Linked DNA regions of Homo sapiens: regions 2 and 3 are each linked to region 1. Evidence: promoter capture Hi-C in human tissues and cell types (Jung and others, 2019). All regions are on one chromosome and are shown on one strand. The core of a region is centred on a gene start or on the middle of the fragment in contact, and the rest is flanking DNA. Distances in the headings are between cores, read along the strand shown.

Region 1 (3,277 bases), core at 496-2,995:
CATTGACCTAAAATCCTAATTACCCAATTCTTAATATTGCACATTTCTTCCTCAAATGAAATAGGATTTTAGAAACTGCAGAAATGGACGGTGTAGGAACTATTTAGCTTTAGTATGAATCTAGTGTTTAACAGCCACTTGTACACTAGAAAACACTATTATAATTCTGTGAAAAATGATTTTTTTTTTTTTTTGAGATGGAGTCTCGCTCTGTCGCCCAGGCTGGAGTGCAGTGGCGCGATCTCGGCTCACTGCAAGCTCCGCCTCCGAGGTTCACGCCATTCTCCTGCCTCGGCCTCCCCAGCAGCGGGGACTACAGGCGCCCGCCACCACGCCCGGCTAATTTTTTTTTTATTTTTAGTAGAGACGGGGTTTCACCGTGTTAGCCAGGATGGTCTCGATCTCCTGACCTCGTGATCCGCCCTCCTCGACCTCCCAAAGTGCTGGGATTAACGACGTGAGCCACCGCGCCCGGCCGAAGAAGGATTTTTTTAAGGCATCAACCAAAAGCAGAGTATTCTATATATTACGTGGTTACCTTTTTGTGGTCTTTCTAAAAACTCAGGGAAAAAAAACTGCCGTATAATGAATATAATGAGAGTGAATTTCGCTTCTACACATAAGGCTATCCAGTTAAGAACAGGGGAAAAGCCGGGCGCGGTGGCTCACGCCTGTAATCCCAGCACTATGGGAGGCGGAGGCGGGTGGATCACGAGGTCAGGAGATCGAGACCATCCTGGCTAACACAGTGAAACCCCGGCTCTACCAAAAATACAGAAAAATTAGCCGGGCGTGGTCGCGGGCGCCTGTAGTCCCAGCTACTCGGGAGGCTGAGGCAGGAGAATGGCGTGAACCCGGGAGGCGGAGCTTGCAGTGAGCGGAGATCGCGCCACTTCACTCTAGCCTGGGCAGCAGAGCGAGACTCCGTCTCAAATAATAATAATAATAATAATAATAATAATAATAATGGGGGAAAAAATGAAAAATGGAATAAAAGCTCTCCGGCCGTAGATAACAGGCTGAAGTACTGTTCATAGGATAGATCTCTTCGCTATTTTCACCTGGAATTCTCCTCTGTGAACTCTGCAACAGACTTCTGTAGAGAGAACCCCAGATCGGTTGGGTGGTCCTTCTGATGGGTCTGGATAAACCCCTGTACAGCTGACTTAACCAAGAAGGGAAGTACATGTTGGAGCCACACGATGGCGAAAAACAATCACGAAATCCCACGCTGCCGGTAGTTAAAAGTCAGTTTTGGAAATACACAGAAATCCCTTAAAATTCCAGGAGTTCCCACTCTCTTCTCGAATATTTAAGGCCTCCTCCGCACAACATTGGAGTACACGTGTCTAGAAACAAGACAAATCTCCAAGGTCTCTGGGGTGCTTGCTGGGGTGGAGATAAGGGAAAGACCTCTCCCTGAGTCTTAAAGCATCAGTCTGCACTTCTACTCAACAAGTCGGCAGCCAAAAGTGACGACGAGAGAGCGACTCCACGTAGCGGCGCCAGGCGCGAGCCCAAGACAACCAGAGGCGGTCACAAGGTATACGCCCTTCTCCTCTTTCCACGCTTCTCGAGAGGCTCCCGCGGCCAGAACCGGAAAACAAGGAGTAACAGTCGCGTTTCAAATCTCGCAGACCTGCTGGCCGATTTCGAGTCTTCTGAAAGAGGAAGGCGAGCAAAGCCAAAATTCTCCCAGAGCGCGAACCCAAACACAGATCGCCGCTGGGGTCCAAGCGCCCTTCAACTCCGCCCGCTAGTGCCCAAGATTACCGGGAAGGAATTCAACGAATCAGTGGTGAGGTGCCGCCGCCATGCCTACTACGGGCGGAAATTTGAGAGAAAGCTTCGCACCGGTAGGAAAACTGAGGAGCAACCGAGCACGATTGGAAAGGTTGACGATAGTGGTTAAGTGGCTCGGCCTTGCCCTCAGTTAAAATGGCAATTTTAGTTGCTTCACTGATACGGAATCGGCGAGGCGCCAAGGAGGCTTCCTGCGTGGGGCCGCAGAGCGAGTCGGGAAACGATTTTAAACTGAAGAGGCGGCGGAGGGCCGAATTCCCTTTTCTCAACGGCTTGATTTCAGAGCTGGGCTGGTCTCTGACAGGCTCAGCTGGAGAGGGACGGGTTGGGACGCACTGTCCTTTTGCCCTTCCCCCTCCGCGAGCAGAAGCTGACTCCGCAGGAGCGAGGGTCGCAGAGCTGGGTGAGCGGAAATGTCCCTCCCAGAGTGAAGTCGCAGGGCCCGCCCCGCGTCTGAGGGAGCGGAGGTCTTCCTGGGTGCGTTTGTGTCTCTTGTGAACCCACTTGTGGAGCGAGAGGGAATTTGGGAGGGCCAGGGGTTAGTCTGGCCTCTGTCTTAGCTGTCATTTTGGCGGTTTTTTTTTTTTTTCTTCAGGGGATTTCAGTCTCCACATAGTTTTGGAGCCGGACTTTTGAAGAATGATTCGTGAATCCGGAATGGGTGACAGCGTCATCACGGCATTTTATTGGTAAAGATGCTTTGTATTGGTCCCGGACCTGCTTTAACTTTGTATTTGCCCTGTTGTGTGGTCATTATCTTACAATACTTGCGTGTTGAGGTGTGTTTAAACACTACGTGCTTAACACTGGCTAAGTATTGGCATTGGGGCGGTTGGATTTAGGTATTGGTGGCAATGTAGAAAAGTGATCAAGTCAGAGCCCCTTCACGGACTAATCACAAGAGAAACAACAAAGCTTTACTTGTGTGCTGTGAACCACAACTGCAAGTGGAATTGTCAAGAGAACTAGCCCTGCCAAGCTCAGGAAAACTTCTGAGGAGATGGCACATGGAAAATGGATAAGATTTACTGAGACAAACGGGAGTAGAGAAGTGTTTTTAATTGGCGATAAGGTGAATAAAAAGGCAGGGAGAACAGTAGAGTGATCATCTGTCTAGAGTAGGGGGTGCATGTTTGGGTATAGGGCTGTCATTTAACCTCTTAAAGAATTGTCTACTGGAACTTTCTTCACTCCCATCCCCCCACCCCCCAATGTTGTATACAAAACCTTAGAGGAAGTGTATGCAGAATGTTGGATTTTGGAAAGGCTAATGTCGATGGATCTTGGGGAAGAACTGAAGTAGTAGAAAATGAACCTGGATAGGATCAGATAATAAGATCAAATACAGTAGTGCCTTGAAAGCCAGACAGGAATTCTGATTTGACTTCATATAGATGTGTGGGAACTGTTATGGGATCTCAAGCAAGGTAATGATAAAAGTGGTGACAATGAAAGACTGATGATGGATTAGGGA
Region 2 (3,277 bases), core at 314-2,813, 590 kb after region 1:
ATTGTGAATGGGAGTTCACTCATGATTTGGCTCTCTGATTGTCTGTTATTGGTGTATAAGAATGCTTGTGATTTTTGTACATTGATATTGTGTCCTGAGACTTTGCTGAATTTGCTTATCAGCCTAAGTAGATTTTGGGCTGAGATGATGGGGTTTTCTAAATATACAATCATGTCATCGGCAAAGAGGGACAATTTGACTTCCTCTTTTCCTAATAAATATTCCAAATAAATAAAATTCCTTTTATTTATTTGTCCTGCCTTATTGCCCAAGCCAGGACTTCCAACACTACGTTGAATAGGAGTGGTGAGAGAGGGCATCCCTGTCTTGTGCCACTTTTCAAAGGAAATGCTTCCAGTTTTTGCCCATTCAGTATGATATTGACTGTGGGTTTGTCATAAATAGCTATTATTATTTTGAGATACATTCCATCAATACCTAATTTATTGAGAGTTTTTAGCATGAAGGGCTATTGAATTTTGTCAAAGGCCTTTTCTGCATCTATTGAGATAATCATGTGGTTTTTGCCTTTGGTTCTGTTTATATGCTGGAATATGTTTATTGATTTGTGTATGTTGAACCAGCCTTGCATCCCAGGGGTGAAGCCCACTTGATCATGGTGGATAAGCTCTTTGATATGCTGCTGGATTCGGTTTGCCAGTAATTTACTGAGGATTTCTGCATCGATGTTCATCAGGGATATTGGTCTAAAATTCTCTTTTTTTGTTGTGTCTCTGCCAAGCTTTGGTATCAGGATGATGCTGGCCTCATAAAGTGAGTTAGGGAGGATTCCCTCTTTTTCTATTGACTGGAATAGTTTTAGAAGGAATGGTACCAGCTCATCCTTGTACCTCTGGTAGAATTCAGCTGTGAATCCATCTGGTGCTGGGCTTTTTTTGGTTGGTAGGCTATTGATTATTGCCTCAATTTCAGAGCCTGTTATAGGTCCATTCAGGGATTCAACTTCTTCCTGGTTTAGTCTTTGGAGGGTGTATGTGTCCAGGAATTTATCCATTTCTTCTAGATTTTCTAGTTTATTTGCGTAGAGGTGTCTAGTATTTAGGTATTTTATAGTATTCTCTGAAGGTAGTTTGTATTTCTGTGGGATTGGTGGTGATGTCCCCTTTATCATTTTTTATTGTGTCTATTTGATTCTTCTCTCTTTTCTTCTTTATTAGTCTTGCTAGTGGTCTGTCAATTTTGTTGATCTTTTCAAAAAACCAGCTCCTAGATTCATTGATTTTTTTGAAGGGTGTTGTGTCTCTATCTCCTTCAATGCTGCTCTGATCTTAGTTATTTCTTGTCTTCTGCTAGCTTTTGAATGTGTTTGCTCTTGCTTCTCTAGTTCTTTTAATTGTGATGTTAGGGTGTCAATTTTAGATCTTTCCTGCTTTCTCTTGTGAGCATTTAGTGCTATAAATTTCCCTCTACACACTGCTTTGAATGTGTCCCAGAGATTCTGGTATGTTGTGTCTTTGTTCTCATTGGTTTCAAAGAACATCTTTATTTCTGCCTTCATTTTGTTATGTACCCAGTAGTCATTCAGGAGCAGGTTGTTCAGTTTACATGTAGTTGAGCTGTTTTGAGTGAGTTTCTTAATCCTGAGTTCTAATTTGATTGCACTGTGGTCTGAGAGACTGTTATAATTTCTGTTCTTTTACATTTGCTGAGGAGTGCTTTACTTCCAACTACGTGGTCAATTTTGGAATAAGTGTGGTGTGGTGCTGAGAAGAATGTGCATTCTGTTGATTTGGGGTGGAGAGTTCTGTAGATGTCTATTGGGTCTTCTTGGTGCAGAGCTGATTTCAATTCGTGGATATCCTTGTCAACTTTCTGTCTTGTTGACCTGTCTAATGTTGACAGTGGGGTGTTAACGTCTCCCATTATTATTGTTTGGGAGTCTAAGTCTCTTTGTAGGTCTCTAAGGACTTGCTTTATGAATCTGGGTGGTCCTGTATTGGGTGCATATATATTTAAGATAGTTAGCTCTTCTTGTTGAATTGATCCCTTTACCATTATGCAATGGCCTTCTTTGTCTCTTTTGATCTTTGTCGGTTTAAAGTCTGTTGTATCAGAGACTAGGATTGCAACCCCTGCCTTTTTTTGTTTTCCATTTGCTTGGTAGATCTTCCTCCATCCCTTTATTTTGAACCTATGTGTGTCTCTGCATGTGAGATGGGTCTCCTGAATACAGCACACTGATGGGTCTTGACTCTTTATCCAATTTGCCAGTCTGTGTCTTTTAATTGGAGCATTTAGCCCATTTACATTTAAGGTTAATATTGTTATGTGTGGATTTGATCCTGTCACTATGATGTTAGCTGGTTATTTTGCTCATTAGTTGATGTGATTTCTTCCTAGCATCGATGGTCTTTACAATTTGGCATGTTTTTGCAGTGTCTGGTACTGGTTGTTCCTTTCCATGTTTAGTGCTTCCTTCAGGAGCTCTTTTCGGGCAGGCCTGGTTCTGACAAAATCTCTCAGCACTTGCTTGTCTGTAAAGGATTTTATTTCTCCTTCACTTATGAAGCTTAGTTTGGCTGGATATGAAATTCTGGGTTGAAAATTCCTTTCTTTAAGAATGTTGAATATTGGCCCCCACTCTCTTCTGGCTTGTATTGTTTCTGCTGAGAGATCCGCTGTTAGTCTGATGGGCTTCCCTTTGTGGGTAACTTGACCTTTCTTTGTCTTGCTGCCCTTAACATTTTTTCCTTCATTTCAACCTTGGTGAATCTGACAATTATGTGTCTTAGGGTTGCTCTTCTTGAGGAGTATCTTTGCGGTGTTCTCTGTATTTCCTGAATTTGATTGTTGGTCTGCCTTGCTAGGTGTGGGAATTTCTCCTGGATAATATTCTGCAGAGTGTTTCCCAACTTGGTTCCATTCTCCCCGTCACTTTCAGGTACACCAGTCAGACATAGATTTGGTCTCTTCACATAGTCCCATATTTCTTGGAGTCCTTGTTCATTTCTTTTTACTCTTTTTTCTCTAAACTTCTCTTCCTGCTTCATTTCATTCATTTGATCTTCAATCACTGATCCCCTTTCTTCCAGTTGATTGAATCAGCTACTGAAGCTTGCACATTCGTCACTTAGTTTCTTTGCCATGGTTTTTAGCTCCATCAGGTCATTTAAGGATTTCTCTACACTGGTTATTCTAGTTTGCCATTCATCTAATCTTTTTTCAAGGTTTTTAAGCTTCTTTGCGATGGGTTCAAAATTCCTCCTTTAGCTCGGAGAAATTTGATCATCTGAAGCCTTCTTCTCTCAACTTGTCA
Region 3 (3,277 bases), core at 519-3,018, 550 kb after region 1:
ACCAGGACTCTCGTTTGTCATTGATGAGCAATGTATAACCATACTTACTTCAGTGGACTTCTGTGAGACTAAGTGAAATGAATACCCAAAGCTTTTAGCACCCAATGTGCCTGATACATTGTAAGTGTCCATTATTATTAGCATTGCCTGGATTCTAATAGTGACCCAGAGATAGTGCTAATGCAGAACTGATAGCAATAAAAGACAAATCCACCTTTGTACTAGCCACCCTTGTGAGTCACACCTGGTAAAAACTATTATATATTAAGTACTTATTATGTCCCAGCTTTATGCTAAGTAACTTACATATGAGTTGACAGTGTCTATTCCTCCTTGCCACTCTTCTCCTCTCATATTTTTGTTTTTACCGTTGAAGTTCTGAGGACACCCTAGAAATAGGGCATCCCCCCAAAATTGGGGTCAATAGGTTAGAAAGGCTACACAGGTCACAGCAGAACTCTAATCTCTCAGACTCCCAAGTTTAAGACTGCACTTTCCCTCAATGCTGTATTTAGGTCTCTTTCTTTATTTTCCTGGCCAAGTCATCAGAAGCTGGTTGAACAGAACAGATCCTGAATAGTTACCTTCATGACAAATAATAACAGCTACACATTTTCCCATGGTCTTCACCCCAGACAGGTTTCTGTCTCCTCACTATGGAAGGTGGTAGGGTGAATACCATGAAACCACGTGCTGCTTTCTTTTTTACTACTGGCAGAGTTTCACCCTGGTTGAATGGGTTCAAAGAGAAGGTTTCACTCTAACTGCTGGCCTTACAGACACCTGGAACATCTGAAGCATTATTATTATGGCTGACTTGTTCTGAAGAACTCAGGCTTTTCTCATTTTTAGAAAGTGTAATTTTGTGTACTTGTATGAAGGGAAGAGAAATACTGCCCTCGGAAATGAAAATTCTATCACAGCATCACTGTTAGTTAGATATCATATGTACATTGAGCTGCAGATAATAAAGCAGCCATGTTGAGCCCGCTGTGATGGCTGAAGAGCCTGGTTCTTGGGTTGAAGAGGACAGACACAGGCAAGTTCTCCCCATCATCCTACCTGCGATTAGCCCAGTGGCCTGTTCTAATCTCCCTTTCTAAAATTCAGGCAAATGTTAATTTTCTTCTCAATAGTACTTAGTCAAATTTCTTGCAAATTTGAAATGTCAAATAGAAAACTCCCACAAAGTTGAGCTCGTAAATTAATCATGGCCACAGGAGCTAACCAGCAATGCCACTGGGCTAGACTTCAGCTCCTTTCCTGTGGCTCTAAGGCCTCCAACTCAGTGGCTCCTTTCTCTACTCATTCTCTCTGCTGCTGTTTAGGTCAGGCTCATTCACTCCCAGCTTAGTGTGCTTTTCCCTTGGACAAGATGACAGAAAGTTGACCTGCCATCATAGTGTTTGAGTCCTTCCCAATCATGGGAAACTGGGAACAACTGTGTACACTCTGAGACTGTGTGGTAGAGGTGGAGAGGAGAAGGAAGAGGATAGTTAGGAGAAGTCTGAAGCCTATAGCTTAGAGAGTGTCTTCCTCATGAAAAATTGCACTCACTGGGCAGTGGCATTACAGAAACAGGCTTAATTTGGATTAATCTTTCTGTAAATCTGTATTGAGAATTGTTTCATAAAACAATGTCACCGGTCTTCTCTGTTGTTTGTCTCTCTTTTGTGTAGGTTTAACATAATTATCTTTAGTTTTTCATTCTTAGGTATGATGTTGGTTGTCGATATTGATATTCTTTTTCATGTTAAGGAAACATCTATTACACATTTTTAAAGAGTTCATTTAACTAAAGCAATGGTTTTCATTTGATTGAATTTCTTTTTGACGGCAACCAGTTAAGATGCTTTTATTGTTTTTCTTATTTAATGTAATGGCACTCATACCAACCACACTATTGGGAAGTTTTAAAGGGCTAAATATGTTAAGCTACTAGAATAGTGTCATATAGTGTTAGCTGTTATTATGATACATGATGTGGTATGTTATCTTAATAAATTACAGATAACCCATTCTTACATTCCTGGGATTAAACCCCAAAGCCTCTGTCAACCTGGGCTGCTGACTGATGTGTGTCCCATGGTGGGGAAACTCTAAACATTGTCAACAACTTTTTTTCCCCCAGGGGTTCCATGTTTTCCTTTGGGATTATAATTGTGTGAAAGCCGGCATTAACTTCCCTCTCTCCCAGAAAACACTGGTAATAAGAGATCTGCAAGTGCTTACAAATTGAACAGAAGTGGTCTCACCTGCTGTTGGTCAGATTATTTTGAATGGCCAACAGAGTGTTGTAATCACAAAAATGTGGAAATGAGAGGTGGATTTGTTCAGAGGCAATTCACCTTGGTGTTTTTACACATCTTATGACAGCTTTAGTTCCAGACTATCTTTTCCAGGATGTTTGTATAGAGCACAGAGGCTTGGGAGCTAGAGATGGTATCTCTCTCCAGGTCAGACAGTAGATTTGTTTCTTGAAAAAGATAATATAGTTTCTCTCTGTGGAGCAAAGTTTGGGCAGGTTTGCTTGCAGCCACTTAAAAGATGGGAAGTTTCCTAAGCTCAGGGTTCCTCATCTGGGATGGGACATGGATGTGTGTGCAGGATCTGCCCAGGCCTGTTCTGTGTCGTTCCCTTCCCTGATGGGACTTAGGGACAAAGGGACATATAGAGAACACGGAGCTTGTGCTGCATGCTCTGCCATGAGTAAAAATGGTCCAAATCAGTTTGGGCTTGTTGTTTCCTTTCCAACTAAATTTTGAAAGGGCAGCAAGTCAGCTTAGCACCTATGCTGTTGCTTAGAGATTGCTTAAGCCCTTGACAAGAGTTACACAAATGACGCTATAGCAAAATAGTCAAAGCAAAGTACTGCATGTGAACAGGCAATTAACTCAGGGGAAATCTAACTAAAAACATATGGAAAGTTTCTTGATTTTAGTGAGACATGCAAAATAAAGATACTCTTTATTAAACATGTATCAAAAATAAGGTACTCTTTTTTACTTATCAAATTGACTGAATTTAAAAACATATTTAACATTTGGTGCTGGTGAGAAAATGAATATAGTTACCTCATACAATGCTTTCAAGAGAGTGAATTCTTACTGTATTAATTTTCTATTGCTGTGTAACATTTGAATCTCTGAATTCTTTTTCTGGGATCAGCTGGAGAAAACGCTCTGCTTTTAAAGGGCTCATGTGGTTAGGTAAGATCCACCTGGATAATGTCCCTATAGTAAGGTAATAGAATCAGGGAATCTATCACATCCACAGT

Evidence for each region. Contacts are between HindIII fragments. The study calls those that stand out against the background at their distance.
Region 2: a contact is called between a fragment that was not itself captured here and the fragment with the promoter of DARS2 in region 1, in 1 of the 25 tissues and cell types used here (mesenchymal stem cells).
Region 3: a fragment that was not itself captured here is called in contact with the fragment with the promoter of DARS2 in region 1 in 1 of the 25 tissues and cell types used here (spleen).

What each region holds. Positions count from the first base shown.
Region 1 is chr1:173,823,141-173,826,417 of GRCh38, reverse strand. It overlaps DARS2 (aspartyl-tRNA synthetase 2, mitochondrial), which reads right to left and starts at 1,745. Exons shown (of 17, transcript NM_018122.5): 1 at 1,062-1,745. The coding sequence starts at 1,188. CENPL (centromere protein L) reads left to right here and starts at 1,535. Exons shown (of 6, transcript NM_001387287.1): 1 at 1,535-2,206; 2 at 2,399-2,492. RefSeq lists enhancers at 1-363, 1,005-1,522, 1,229-1,788, 1,523-2,041, 2,019-2,258. The HindIII fragment of the contact is 1,671 bases long and covers 612-2,282 here.
Region 2 is chr1:173,228,588-173,231,864 of GRCh38, reverse strand. It overlaps a transcript of TNFSF4 not described here. Among named protein-coding and RNA genes, the nearest start is that of TNFSF4, 23 kb to the right of the region's middle. The HindIII fragment of the contact is 3,707 bases long and covers 1-3,277 here.
Region 3 is chr1:173,274,557-173,277,833 of GRCh38, reverse strand. All of the region lies in intron 2 of LOC100506023 (a long non-coding RNA gene), which reads left to right. It also overlaps a transcript of TNFSF4 not described here. Among named protein-coding and RNA genes, the nearest start is that of TNFSF4, 69 kb to the right of the region's middle. The HindIII fragment of the contact is 6,274 bases long and covers 1-3,277 here.